Regions from separate parts of the Homo sapiens genome. Here regions 1, 2, 4 and 5 are each linked to region 3. The links are contacts of gene promoters, found by promoter capture Hi-C in blood cells and fetal thymus (Javierre and others, 2016). All regions are on one chromosome and are shown on one strand. The core of a region is centred on a gene start or on the middle of the fragment in contact, and the rest is flanking DNA. Distances in the headings are between cores, read along the strand shown.

Region 1 (2,710 bases), core at 178-2,677, 760 kb after region 3:
GTATGTCCAAGATCTCCTAAGAAAATAAAATGTTAATCCTTCAGTATGAAAGTATTTTATAAATTTTCAATCAAACAAAGCCTCTCAATTATCTAATTGTGGCACTTACTTCAATTGGTTCACTTTGTCCATCAGGTTCATCAGTATCAAGTGCTGAAAGCTCTAACTCGATATCCCTATCAGGTTTAGTATCTGTTGCATCTTCTGTATAATCACTCTGTAACTAAGAAAAATACTGATTTTGCTCTCCCTCTCCCTCTCCCTCTCCCCATGGTCTCCCTCTCCCCATGGTCTCCCTCTCCCTCTCTTTCCATGGTCTCCCTCTCATGCCGAGCCGAAGCTGGACTATACTGCTGCCATCTCGGCTCACTGCAACCTCCCTGCCTGATTCTCCTGCCTCAGCCTGCAGAGTGCCTGCAATTGCAGGCGCGCGCCGCCACGCCTGACTGGTTTTCGTATTTTTTTGGTGGAGACGGGGTTTCGCTGTGATGGCCGGGCTGGTCTCCAGCTCCTAACCACGAGTGATCTGCCAGCCTCGGCCTCCCGAGGTGCCGGGATTGCAGACGGAGTCTGGTTCACTCAGTGCTCAATGGCGCCCAGGCTGGAGTGCAGTGGCGTGATCTCGGCTCGCTACAACCTCCACCTCCCAGCCGCCTGCCTTGGCCTCCCAAAAAGCCGAGATTGCAGCCTCTGCCCGGCCGCCACCCCGTCTGGGAAGTGAGGAGCGTCTCTGCCTGGCCGCCCATCGTCTGGGATGTGAGGAGCCCCTCTGCCTGGCTGCCCAGTCTGGAAAGTGAGGACCGTCTCTGCCCGGCCGCCATCCCATCTGGGAAGTGAGGAGCGCCTCTTCCCGGCCGCCATCACATCTAGGAAGTGAGGAGCGTCTCTGCCCGGCCGCCCGTCGTCTGGGATGTGGGGAGCGCCTCTGCCCCGCCGCCCTGTCTGGGATGTGAGGAATGCCTCTGCCCGGCCGCCACCCCGTCTGGGAGGTGAGGAGCGTCTCTGCCCGGCCGCCCCGTCTGAGAAGTGAGGAGACCCTCCGCCCGGCAGCCGCCCCGTATGAGAAGTGAGGAGCCTCTCCGCCCGGCAGCCGCCCCGTCTGAGAAGTGAGGAGCCTCTCTGCCTGGCAGCCACCCCGTCTGGGAAGTGAGGAGCGTCTCCGCCCGGCAGCCGCCCCGTCCGGGAGGGAGGTGGGGGGGTCAGCCCCCCGCCTGGCCAGCCGCCCCGTCCGGGAGGTGAGGGGCGCCTCTGCCCGGCCGCCCCTACTGGGAAGTGAGGAGCCCCTCTGCCTAGCCAGCCGCCCCGTCCGGGAGGGAGGTGGGGGGGTCAGCCCCCCGCCCGGCCAGCCGCCCCGTCCGGGAGGGAGGTGTGGGGGTCAGCCCCCGGCCCGGCCAGCCGCCCTGACCGGGAGGGAGGTGGAGGGGTCAGCTCCCAACCCGGCCAGCCGCCCTGTCCGGGAGGTGAGGGGCGCCTCTGCCCTGCCGCCCCTACTGGGAAGTGAGGAGCCCCTCTGCCCGGCCAGCCGCCCCGTCCGGGAGGGAGGTGGGGGGGTCAGCCCCCCGCCTGGCCAGCCGCCCCATCCGGGAGGTGAGGGGCGCCTCTGCCCGGCCGCCCCTACTGGGAAGTGAGGAGCCCCTCTGCCCAGCCACCACCCCGTCTGGGAGGTGTGCCCAACAGCTCATTGAGAACGGGCCATGATGACAATGGCGGTTTTGTGGAATAGAAAGGGGGGAAAGGTGGGGAAAAGATTGAGAAATCGGATGGTAGCCGTGTCTGTGTAGAAAGAAGTAGACATGGGAGACTTTTCATTTTGTTCTGTACTAAGAAAAATTCTTCTGCCTTGGGATCCTGTTGATCTGTGACCTTACCTCCAACCCTGTGCTCTCTGAAACATGTGCTGTGTCCACTCAGAGTTAAATGGCTTAAGGGCGGTGCAAGATGTGCTTTGTTAAACAGATGCTTGAAGGCAGCATGCTCATTAAGAGTCATCACCACTCCCTAATCTCAAGTACCCAGGGACACAAACGCTGCGGAAGGCCGCAGGGTCCTCTGCCTAGGAAAACCAGAGACCTTTGTTCACTTGTTTATCTGCTGACCTTCCCTCCACTATTGTCCTATGACCCTGCCAAATCCCCCTCTGTGAGAAACACCCAAGAATGATCAATAAAAAAAAAAAAAAAAAAAGAAAAATACTGATTTTATACCTGTGGAACCTGGGGTTTCCCTTTTAAATTAAAGTAAAAAATCCCAATGATCAGCCAGGCACGGGGGCTCACACCTGTAATCCTAGCACTTTGGGAAGGTGAGGCGAGCAGATCACTTGAGGTCAGGAGTTCAAGACCAGCTTAGCCAACATGGTGAAACCCTGTCTCTACTAAAAACACAAAAATTAGCTGGGCATGGTGGTGGGTGCCTGTAATCCCAGCTACTCGGGAAGCTGAGGCAGGAGAATCGCTTGAACCTGAGAGCCAGAGGCTGCAGTGAGCCAAGATCGTGCCATTGCACTCCAGGCGATAGAGCAAGATTCCATCTCAAAAAAACAAAAATCCCGATGATCTAGTTAAAGAATTATTTAAGAAATCTGGGATTACAATTTTATTTCTGTTATAAGTTTTAAAAGCAATCAATCATCCATCAGAGATAGGCACACCAAAATGCACTCAGTAATGGTATAACCAAGATGCAGCAGCAGAAAACAAATACATTAAGC
Region 2 (2,700 bases), core at 9-2,508, 550 kb before region 3:
CCCACCCACTGAATCTCACCACAGAACAAGCAGCTGCAAGAGAAAAGGACTGGCCTTGTCTCTCAGGGGTCGGTCCTGCAGAGGGTGGGCTCACGATGCCAAGGGAGAAATATGGTGGTAACAGCATGGACCGGACCTGGGTTGGGCTCCAGGCACTGGCTTTTATTTTATTTTATCTCATTTTTTTTGAGATGGAGTTTCGCTCTTGTTGCCCAGGCTGGAGTGCAATGGTGCCATCTCGGCTCACTGCAACCTCCGCCTCCCGGGTTCAAGCAATTCTCCTGCCTCAGCCTCCTGAGTAGCTGGGATTACAGGCATGCGCCACCATGTCCAGCTAATTTTGTATTTTTAGTAGAGACAGGGTTTCTCCATGTTAGTCAGGGTAGTCTCAAACTCCTGACCTCGGGTGATCCGCCCGCCTCGGCCTCCCAAAGTGCTGGGATTACAGTTGTGAGCCACCACACCTGGCCTGATACTGGCCTTTTAAAGGGCAAAGCCATCCAATCCTCCAGGAAAACATGGGGAAGGAGAGTTCCAACATTTCCTGAGCACCTCCATGTCCGGCACTGAGCACATTCCATCTTTTCTCTCTCTCGCTCCTGACATTGACCTAGAAGGCCTGTCTGACATTAATTTGCCCCGGAGGCCTGAGGATGGTGTCAGCCTGCAGACTGCTGCTGTTCCTCAGCTCTCTTCTGCCCTGCTCGCCTCCCTCTATAGTCCTCAAGGCCCATCTGCAACCACTATCCCATCCATACCTGAGGTTGCCCTGGCTCTGACACTTGCATGACATTTGGGAGCTGCTCTAATGCCACCTTCTGGCTGGTACTAGAAAGATGAGGACCTGGCCAGGCACAGTGGCTCACATCTGTAATCCCAGAACTTTGGCAGGCCGAGGGGAGCGGATCACCTGAGGTCGGGAGTTTGAGACCAGCCTGGCCAACATGGTGAAACCCTGTCTCTACAAAAAATGCAAAAATTAGCCAGGCATGATGGCACATGCCTATAATCCCAGCTATTCGGCAGGCTGAGGAAGGAGAATCACTTGAACCCGGGAAGCGGAGTTTGCAGTGAGCCAAGATTGTGCCATTGCACTCCAGCTTGGGTGACAGAGCAAGACTCTGTCTCAAAAAAAAGAATAAAGGAAAAAAAGACGAGGACCCGGTCGTGGCTTCAGCCTCTCTGACCCAGGCCAGAGGGCCCAGCAATCCAGTTGTACATTGTCTGATTGGTTGGTTGATTGGTTGGTTTGCTCCCTGCCTTGCTGCAGAGAGGACCTCAGGCAGCTTCCAAGGATGCGTGATACACAACCAGAGCAGAAAAAAAGAGTAGGGGGAAAACAAGAAAGTAGCACAAGGGTGGGAGCACAGAGGATCCAGGAACAAAGCTAAAGTGCAGAACATAAGGATCTACTGTGGGGGAAACAGACCACAGACTCAGGATTTTTTTTTTTTTTTTTTGAGATGGAGTCTCACTCTGTCACCCCGGCTGGAGTGCAGTGGCCTGATCTCTGCTCACTGCAACCTCCACCTCCCAGGTTCAAGCGATTCTCCTGCCTCAGCCTCCCGAGTAGCTGGGATTACAGGTGCACACCACCACGCCCAGCTAATTTTTGTATTTTTAGTAGAGACGGGGTTTCACCGTGTTGGCCAGGCTGGTCTCGAACTCCTGACCTCAGGTGATCCACCCACCTCGACCTCCCAAAGTGCTGGGATTACAGGCATGAGCCACCATGCCCGGCCAGGATTTTTTTTTTCTAACTTCTTAATTTTATTTTATAAAGAGAAGGGTCTCACTGTGTTGCCCAGGCTGGTCTCAAATTCCTGGCCTCAAGCTGTCCTCCCACCCCAGCCTCCCAAAGAGCTGGGATTATAGGTGTGAGCCACCTGTAATCCTGGCCAACTCAGGTAATTTTGAAGATGGCTTTTATGGTCTACTTGGGCACAAAGGAATGCGGGGAACATCCACCAGCCATGGCTGGGTGACAACTCATGTTCGTTCTCAGCCTATCAGTTTTACACGTTCTCTTTATAAATGATTTCACACACACACACGCACACACATACATACACTCACCACCTCCTTCTGGAGCTCATGTTGAGATGTACAGGGGAGGGAGACCCTTGTAACACAGATTTGAAAAATAATTCAGATATGCATCTTGAAAACAAGGAGAGGCCAGGCGCAGTGGCTCATGCCGATAATCCCAGCACTTTGGGAGGCTGAGGCAGGAGGATCACCTGAGCCCAGGAATTTGAGACCAGCCTGGGCAACATAGTGAGACCTTGTCTCTACAAAAATTTAAAAAGTTAGCTGGGTGCAATGGTGTGTGCCTGTAGTCCCAGCGACTTGGGAGGCTGAGGCGGGAGGATCACTTGAACCTGGGAAGTCAAGGCTGCAGTGACCTGTGACCAGGCCACTGCATTCCAGCCTGGGCAACGGAGTGAGAGCTTGTCTCAAAACACAAAACAAAACAAACAGAGAGAGTTTCAGTAAACAAAATAAAGTATTTGTGTGAAAAAAGATTCAGATACACATTTGAAAAGAAAGTATTCTTTTGGAAGACAAAGGGAATATGATTCTGAAGGAGTGAAACATGAAGGATATTTCTATTGGTTGAGCTTGTAACTTTTGGGCCATGTGGCATGATGTTCTTTTGCTATGAGGGGCTGTATTCCCTCATCACTATACTTTTGCCAC
Region 3 (2,700 bases), core at 29-2,528:
GATGGTGGAAGAAGAGAGAAAGGAGAAGGTGGTAACGTAAGTTACCATTTATTGCAGACTTGTGCTATAAAACACTAAGTAGTGAGTCTTCTAATGCTAACAAGATGATGAGATAAGTATAATTGGCCTCACTTTACAGAGAAGGTAATAGGCTGAAGAGGTGAAGCAACTTACTCAAGGTCACACAGCTAAGTAGCAAAGTGTAGTGAGACCCTAGGCCTGTCTGCCTCCAAAATAAAAAGTGTTCCTCTGCCCAAGAGTCACACAGCAAGTGCTAAACAAATATAACTTCAATGAAGAAGTGAGAGAGCGGGTCCGGGGCCCCAGGGGCTTACAAGCTGGTGGAGGAGACAGACGTACACATATCTACAAGCAGAGGCAAATGCTGATGGCTGAGACATAAAAAGAGCTGCAGGGAGGCAGAGGAGTGAGTGGCTAACTTGACCTGGAGGGGTCTGGGGGGCCCTCTTGGAGGAAGTGATTTTGGGGGGTAGGCCTTGAAGGATGAGCACTTTGCGGCTGACAAGCAGGCCCGAGCGTGGTGCACCGCAGGAGCTCAGCCCTCGCCCGCCGACCTGACCTGGGCCGTGCCGAGACCTCTGAGGTCGTCCTGTCCACCCCACTGTGCCCACGCGGCCGGGTCGGGCCGGGCCTCACCTCCTTCCACTTGAGCTGGCGGATGCTGATCTTCAGGGCATCCAGGGAGGTCCTGGCCTTGGAGCTGTCCACGGTGACCGGCCGCTGGGAGCCGTTCTCGCCGGAACCGTGGCCCGAGCTCCGCTTGCAGCTTCGGCCCTTGTCCCGGGGCTTCCCGTGCGGGCAGAGGCCCTGCACCGGCTTCGGCTTGGACGGGGGCAGCGTGGGCGGCGGCCGCTGAAGGACCTGGGTGTTCCCCTCCTCAGCCGCACTGGGCTGCGCCGGGGCCGGGGCCAGGACCTTGGGCTGCTCCTCCCCTGCCTTGCACTCCGGTTCCCCGGCCGCGCCCGCGTCCACGCGGACCTGTTCCGCCACCGTCTCCGCTGTGGCCTCGGCCTCAGCTTTGGCCGCCGCTTTGGCCGCAGCCACCGCCTCCGCCTCCCACCGGGCCGCCAGCTCGCTCTCGGAGCTGCCCCGCCGCATGGTGCTCAGGGCCGGGGCCAGTGCCAGTGCCACCGCCGCCGCCGCCGCCGCTCCGCCGCCCCAGTCCGCCACCAAACTGCCGCCGCTGCAGCCGCTGCCACGCGTTCCCCGCCCGAGCCCGTTGCCATGATCGCTCAGGCTCGGGTTGACAGCGGCAGTCACCGCATCGAGACGGGGTCCGGGAAGGGACAATCGCCGGCCGAGCCCCAGCGACCTCATAGGCGAGGCTGCCCACGTGACCCTGCCTGTCACAGAGGCAGCGGCGGCCATGTTGGAAGAGGGCAAAGAGCCGCCAGGACCCGCCCACCCCGCGGATGCGCTGGATCTCGAGGGCGCAGAACTCGGAGTGGCGAGGAGAAGCGGGAGGGCAGATTGAGCGCGCGTGGGGCTCGTGAGCCTGGGGACTGGGAGTAAAAACAACTACCTCAAGCAGGAGGCTCAGTCCCCGCCAACACTCGCTGGGATAACTCTCGATAGGACGGAGGAGGAGCCCCCCAGTGGGACCCTCCTCAGTGCAATGGATGGGACCCTCCTCAGTGCAATGGATGGGACCCTCCTCAGTGCGATGGATGTGAGCAGCCCAGGCCCTAGGGGAGCAGAGAGTGTTCCGCTGAAGAAACCCTCTGCTGGTCCTTTGAGCGCCCCCAGATAAGAGGGGAGGCACTTTTCCCTGTTCTCAGGGAGCTCCCGATGGGATGGGGAAGTCATGGGCATGGGTAAGCCCCCTATAGATTCCCACTCGAGTTGAGGATATTAACGATTTTTTCTTTTTCTTTTCTTTTTTTCTTTTTTTTTTTTTTTTTTAGACAGGGTCTCTCTCTGTCGCCCAGGCTGGAGTGCAGTGGCGCGATCCCGGCTCACTGCAGCAGCCTCAACTTCCAGAGCTCAAGGGATCCTCCCACCCCAACCTCCCGAGTAGCTGAGACTACACGAATGTACCACCACTCCCGGCTAAGTTTTGTGTTTCTCGTAGAAACGTGGTTTCGCCATGTTGCCGAGGCTGTTCTCAAACTCCTGACCTCAGGTAATCTGCCAGCCTCGGCCTCCCAAAGTACTAGGATTACAAGCAGAACCACCGCGTCTCTTGTTTTCTTTTTTGTTTTTGTTTTTGTTTTGTTGTTGTTGTTGATGTTGTTACAGAGTTTCGCTCTTGTCGCCCAGGCTGGGATGCAATGGTGTGATCTCGGCTCATTGCAGCCTCCGCCTCCCGGCTTCAAGCAATTCTCCTGCCTCAGCCTTGTGAGTAGCTGGGATTGCAGGAGCCGGCCACCATGCCCGGCTAATTTTTTGTATTTTTAGTATAGACGGGGTTTCACCATCTTGGCCAGGCTGGTCTCTAACTCCCGACCTCAGATGATCCACCCGCCTCAGCCTCCCAAAGTGCTGAGATTACAAGCGTGAGCCACCACGTCCAGCCTGACTGCTTTTACTTATATCACTTTTTTTGTTGTGGTAAAATATAACAAAATTTGCCATTTTAACCATTTTTAGTGTACAATTCAGTGGCATTCTGTATACTCACATTGTTGTGCAACCAGCACCACTATGGGTCTCCGGAACTCTTTTATCTTACCAAACTGA
Region 4 (2,700 bases), core at 126-2,625, 690 kb after region 3:
CACAGTGGTCGGAAATGTCCCAGTTTACATTTCCACAAGCACAACCTCACCAACGTGATATTGTCAAAATTTTTCATCCAATTTGTGCTTTGTAGGAGATTTTCACCATCCTCACTGGGCACAGGTAAGTCCCAAACATCTAAACTTCTCTTAAAAGGAGGGGAAGAAGAATTTATTCAGCTCCGGGCCCCTTCCTGCACACCTATTGCCTCTTAAAAACCTCCACAGAGATATTATGATTCCTACTTTGCAAGGAGAAAACCAAAGTTAAGGGAGGTGAAGTGACTTGCCTGAAGTTACACACCAGAAAGTTGTGGAACTAGGACTCAAAAGCAAGTGTTCATGCTGCTAATGTCTGTACTCTTGTTCACTGTGTTATGGACTCAACTAACATTTTTTGAGCTCTGATTATATACCTCACCCTGGAGATACAAAAATGAATTATGGGGCATTCTTAGCACACAGTAATGCTCAATAAAACTTTGTTGAATGAATATTGAATCAAGGAGCTCAAAGTTCACAGGAGACACACATGTAAAAGATATTTGCAATAGAATGGTGAAGCAGCATGAGAGAGGTACAGCAGTTGTTCCCCTTTACCCACAGTTTTGCTTTCTGCAGTTTCAGTTACCTGCAGTCAACTGTGACCCGAAACTATTAAAAACAGGCTGGGTGCAGTGGCTCACACCTGTAATCCCAACACTTTGGGAAGCCGAGACAGACGAATCACCTGAGGTCAGGAGTTCGAGACCAACCTGGCCAATGTGGTGAAACCCCATCTCTACTAAAAATACAAAAAAATTAGCTGGGCATGGTAGCACACACCTGTAGTCCCAGCCACTCAGGAGGCTGAGGCAGGAGAATCACTTGGACCTAGGAGGTGGAGGTTGCAGTGAGCCGAGATCACACCACTGCACTCCAGCCTGGGTGACAGAGTGAGACTCCATCTCAAAAAAAAAAAAAACAAAAACAAAACAAAACAAAACAAAACAAAACAAAAAAAAAAAAAATATATATATATATATATATATATAAAAGTAAGATATTTTGAGGGACAGAGAGAGAGACCATATTCACCTAACTTGTATTATAGTACATTGTTATAATTGTTCTATGTTATTATTGTTGTTGTTATCCCTTACTATGCCTAATTTATAAATTAAGCTTTATCATGGATATGAATGTATAGGGAAAAAAATCACATATATAGGGTTCAGTACGATCTGTGATTTCACACATCCACAGGGGGTCTTGGAACGTATTCCCCATAGATAAGGGGGAACTACTGTATGCTCCAGTGCAGCAGGCCACAGACAAGAAAAATGTTTAGTTTTAAGGGACAGATCAGGGAAGGCTTCACACTGGAGAAACTTTTTACCAAACACAAAAGGAGGAAATGGGTTCCAGGCAAAGAGGACAAATGCAAGGCACAGGAGTGTGAAGCAACATTGCATTTTCTGGGAATTATACTACTTTTGATTGCCATAAAGTTGCTTCCTTCCAGTTTGGAGCCAGAGCATCCAGTTCAATTTATTTCCATTCGCAGGGCCTTTGTTAAATGCCTGCGTGTGCTAGGCCCTGTGTGAGAAGCTTTACATGCATTATCTCATCGAATCCTTGCAGCTTTCCCCCATTATCCAGATGAGAACATTGAGGCTCAGAGAGGCCAAGAATTCAGCTCAGGAATATATTCACATTTTCTGTTCTTTCTACTCCCCACTGTTTTCGCAAGATACCAGGCTACTCCTTTCTCCGATCTTACTCCAAAGGAAAGATGTCCCTACTAGCAAACCTCAAAAGCCATGGCCAGGTGCCCGTTGGATCTGAAGATTATTTCTGCTCATTCCACTGTCTCTTTTCTTACCTGGAAAACTGGAGAGGAGAATGCATATAGAGTCACAAAGTTTTCAATCATTGGCTGGACACTAAATATCATCCCATTCATTCATTTAACAAATCTTTTTTGAGCACCAGCTATGTGCTAGGCAATGCTCTCAGTGCTGTAGACACAAAAGTGAATAAGAGGGACAAGACCCCTGTGGGTGTGGTGGAGCATGCCTATAATCCCAGCTGCTTGGGAGGCTGAGGTGGGAGGAGGATCACTTAAGCCCAAGAATTTTAGTTCAGCCTGGGCAACATAGTGAGACCTTGTGTCTCTTTAAAAAAAAAAAAAAAAAGGCTGGGCGTGGTGGCTCACACCTGTAATCCCAACACTTTGGGAAGCTGGGGCAGGCAGACTTGAGATCAGGAGTTGAAGACCAGCCTGACCACCAACATGGTGAAACCCTACCTCTACTTAAAAAATACAAAAATTAGCCGGGCATGGTGGCGGGCACCTGTAGTCCCAGCTACTCGGGAGGCTGAGGTAGGAGAGTCACTTGAACCCAGGAGGCGGAGGTTGCAGTGACCCAAGATTGCACCACTGCACGCCAGCCTGGGCAACAAAACAAGACTCCATCTCAAAAAAAAGAAAAGAAAAGAAAAGAAAAAAGAAAAAAAGACGGGCCGGGTACAGTGGCTCATGCCTGTAATCCCAGCACTTCAGGAGGCTGAGGTGGGCGGATCACCTGAAGTTGGGAGTTCGAGACCAGCCTGACCAACATGGAGAAACTCCATCTCTACTAAAAATATAAAATTAGCCAGGCACGGTGGCACATGCCTATAATCCCAGCTACTTGGGAGGCTGAGGCAGGAGAATCG
Region 5 (2,700 bases), core at 7-2,506, 740 kb after region 3:
TAAAACTAGTTGTAAGTTCCCTCTTCCACTTTCTGAAGTAGCTTCTGTAAAATTGGCATTATTTCTCCTTAAATATTTATTAATAATAGAATAAACCTGTGAAGCGATCTGGGCCTGGAGTTTTCTTTGTGGGAAGGTTTTTCATAATTAATTCAATTTCTTTGGTAGTTATAGGGCTATGGCAGGCAGCTTCTAAAATCGCTCCTAGGCTAATGATCAATTTATTGCCCCTCTGCTCCCAATTCGCCCTTGAATATATGCTCTTCAATAATGGATAGAATTCAGTGAAGCATTTCTCCTTTGCAGTGAGCACAGTGATGAGCTTTCTCAGTAGAGGGCACTGGAGGGGCATTGCAGGAGGAGGGGCTCTCCTACTGTTTCCCACAGTTTCGTGGTAGGTCAGTGATGTGGATGTAATGACATCCAGGGGAGCTCTTTCCCAGCCATGTGTCCAGCACATATGGTCCCTTGGTGACATTGCAACCTCAGTCTAGACCAGCAACAATTTTCCTGTGGCCCTCTCAATGCGAAAATTAGCTTTCTGAAGGCTTCCTTCCTGTCGCCTACCAGTTTCCTGTCCCCCACCAGCCAACTCTCTCTGCAGGCTCCTGTGTACCTCTCCTGCTGCCTGGAGAGTAGCTTTCTGTCTGCCAGTGACTAGTTCCAGCCTGGGCCAACTAGCGGACCTCTGGGCTGAACTATACCTTCTCCGAGGTGTGACCCTCAGCCTTGAGAAGTGGACCCCTTTCCAAGTTTGTGTTTCCTTAGGTACTCTCCCTAACCTATAGAGTACTATGTGGAATTTACTTTTAGCTGGTAGTCATTTATTAGCATTTAATGATTCTTTATATTAAGCTTTACCCCATATAACGTACTGTGTAGTTTCTACCTCCTGATTGGACACAGACTGATACTACTCCCAAAGTTCCCCGCCTCTTGGTATTCATGCCCTGTGTAATCCCTTTCCCTTGCTTCTAAGGATTAGAATACCACAAAAGTAATGGGATGTTGCTTCCAAAATTTGGTTATAAAAGACTGTGACGTCTTTTTAGCACACACTCTCTCTCTCTCACTCTCTGTTGCCTGTATTGCTTGCTGCTTGGATGAGCCACTCTACCATATTGTGAGCTGCACTACAGAGAAGCTCATGTGGCCAGAAACTAACAGTAGCTGTATTAGTCCTTTCTTGTGATGCTATAAAGAAATAACTGAGATGGCCGGGCGCGGTGGCTCACGCCTGTAATCCCAGCACTTTGGGAGGCCGAGGGGGGTGGATCACGAGGTCAGGAGATTGAGGCCATCCTGGCCAACATGGTGAAACCCCGTCTCTACTAAAAATACAAAAATTAGCTGGGCATGGTGGTGGGCGCCTATAGTCCCAGCTACTCAGGAGGCTAACGCGTAAGAATCGCTTGAACCCGGGAGGCGGAGGTTGCAGTGAGCCAAGATAACGCCACTGTACTCCAGCCTGGCAACAGAGCAAGACTGTCTCAAAAAAAAGAAAAACAAAAAACAAAAAAAAAAAAACCTGAGACTGGTATTTCTACATAAAGAAATACCGATACTGATAAAGAAAAGAGGTTTAATTTGGCTCACAGTTCCGCAGGTTGTACAGGCATGGCACCAATAGCTGCTTAGCTCCTGGTGAGGGCCTGAGGAAGCTTACAATCATGACAGAAAGCAAAGAGGCGCCAGCATATCACGTGGTGAGAGCAGAAGCAAGGTGGGGGTAGGGGAGGTGTCACCCTCTTTTAAACAACCAGATCTAGCATGAACTGAGCAAGAACTCATCACCAAGGGGATGGCACTAAGCCATTTATGAGGGATCCATCCCCATGATCCAATACGTCCCACTAGGCCCCACGTCCAACACGAGGTCACATTTCAACATGAGATTTGGAGGGGACAAATATCCAAATCATATCATTCCTCCCCTGGCACCCATCCCCCACATCTCATGTCCTCCTCACGTTGCAAAATACAATAATCCCTTCTCGTTAATCCCCCAAAGTCTTAACTCATTCCAACATCAAATCAAAAGTCCTAAGTCTTCTCTGAGACTCACTTTCTTTCACCTATGAACCTGTAAAATCAAAACCAGTTATTTACTTCCAATAAACAACGGTAGTACAGGCATTGGGTAAACATTCCCATTCCAAAAGGGAGAAACTGACCGAAATAAAGGGGCTACAGGCCCTATGCAAGTCTGAAACTCAGCAGGGCAGATATTAAATCTTACAATTCCAAAATAATCCTTGAGACTGGGCAACATCGTGAAACCTGTCTCTACAGAAAATTAAAAAAACAAAATTAGCCAGGCATGGTGGTGTGCACCTGTAGTCCCAGCTACTCAGGAGGCTGAGGTGGGAGAATCACTTTAGCCCCAGAGGTCAAGGCTGCAGTGAGCCATGATTGCGCCACTGCTCTGGGCAACAGAGTGAGACCCTGTCTAAAACACACATACGGTCAGCAAAGCCTGACTCCTGTCCTCTCTCTCTCCTCTCCAGACAGCATGAGCTTCACCACTCGCTCCACCTTCTCCACCAACTACCAGTCCCTGGGCTCCGTCCAGCCGCCCAGCTACGGTGCCTGGCCGGTCAGGAGAGAGGCCAGCTGGTGGCGGGAGCTCTGGTTTCTGGATCTCCATGTCCCGCTTCACTAGCTTCTGGGGTGGCTTGGGGTCCGGGTTGTGGCCACAAG

What was found. Contacts are between HindIII fragments. The CHiCAGO score rates a contact against its expected background, and 5 or more counts as called.
Region 1: a fragment that was not itself captured here is called in contact with the fragment with the promoter of TTLL11 in region 3 in 1 of 17 cell types (naive CD4 T cells); the score reaches 5.3 in naive CD4 T cells.
Region 2: a fragment that was not itself captured here is called in contact with the fragment with the promoter of TTLL11 in region 3 in 1 of 17 cell types (endothelial precursors); the score reaches 6.1 in endothelial precursors.
Region 4: a contact is called between a fragment that was not itself captured here and the fragment with the promoter of TTLL11 in region 3, in 1 of 17 cell types (total B cells). The highest score is 5.0, in total B cells.
Region 5: a contact is called between a fragment that was not itself captured here and the fragment with the promoter of TTLL11 in region 3, in 9 of 17 cell types (total CD8 T cells, non-activated CD4 T cells, naive CD8 T cells and 6 more). The highest score is 8.7, in total CD8 T cells.

What each region holds. Positions count from the first base shown.
Region 1 is chr9:122,851,214-122,853,923 of GRCh38, forward strand. It overlaps RC3H2 (ring finger and CCCH-type domains 2), which reads right to left. Exons shown (of 21, transcript NM_001100588.3): 19 at 110-223; 20 at 1-16. Among named protein-coding and RNA genes, the nearest start is that of PDCL, 24 kb to the left of the region's middle. RefSeq lists an enhancer at 149-924. The HindIII fragment of the contact is 6,549 bases long and covers 1-2,710 here.
Region 2 is chr9:121,537,663-121,540,362 of GRCh38, forward strand. The region is part of intron 1 of LOC107987016 (a long non-coding RNA gene); the gene reads right to left. Among named protein-coding and RNA genes, the nearest start is that of GGTA1, 39 kb to the left of the region's middle. The HindIII fragment of the contact is 2,907 bases long and covers 1-2,700 here.
Region 3 is chr9:122,092,030-122,094,729 of GRCh38, forward strand. TTLL11 (tubulin tyrosine ligase like 11) reads right to left here and starts at 1,279. Exons shown (of 9, transcript NM_001139442.2): 1 at 658-1,279. The coding sequence starts at 1,119. It overlaps LOC124902263 (a long non-coding RNA gene), which reads left to right and starts at 2,103. Exons shown (of 2, transcript XR_007061757.1): 1 at 2,103-2,143. RefSeq lists enhancers at 807-1,520, 1,270-1,459 and a silencer at 870-919. The HindIII fragment of the contact is 9,416 bases long and covers 1-2,700 here.
Region 4 is chr9:122,785,927-122,788,626 of GRCh38, forward strand. No RefSeq gene overlaps it. Among named protein-coding and RNA genes, the nearest start is that of OR5C1, 1.7 kb to the right of the region's middle. The HindIII fragment of the contact is 426 bases long and covers 1,163-1,588 here.
Region 5 is chr9:122,835,042-122,837,741 of GRCh38, forward strand. It overlaps the pseudogene KRT18P67. Among named protein-coding and RNA genes, the nearest start is that of PDCL, 7.8 kb to the left of the region's middle. The HindIII fragment of the contact is 806 bases long and covers 854-1,659 here.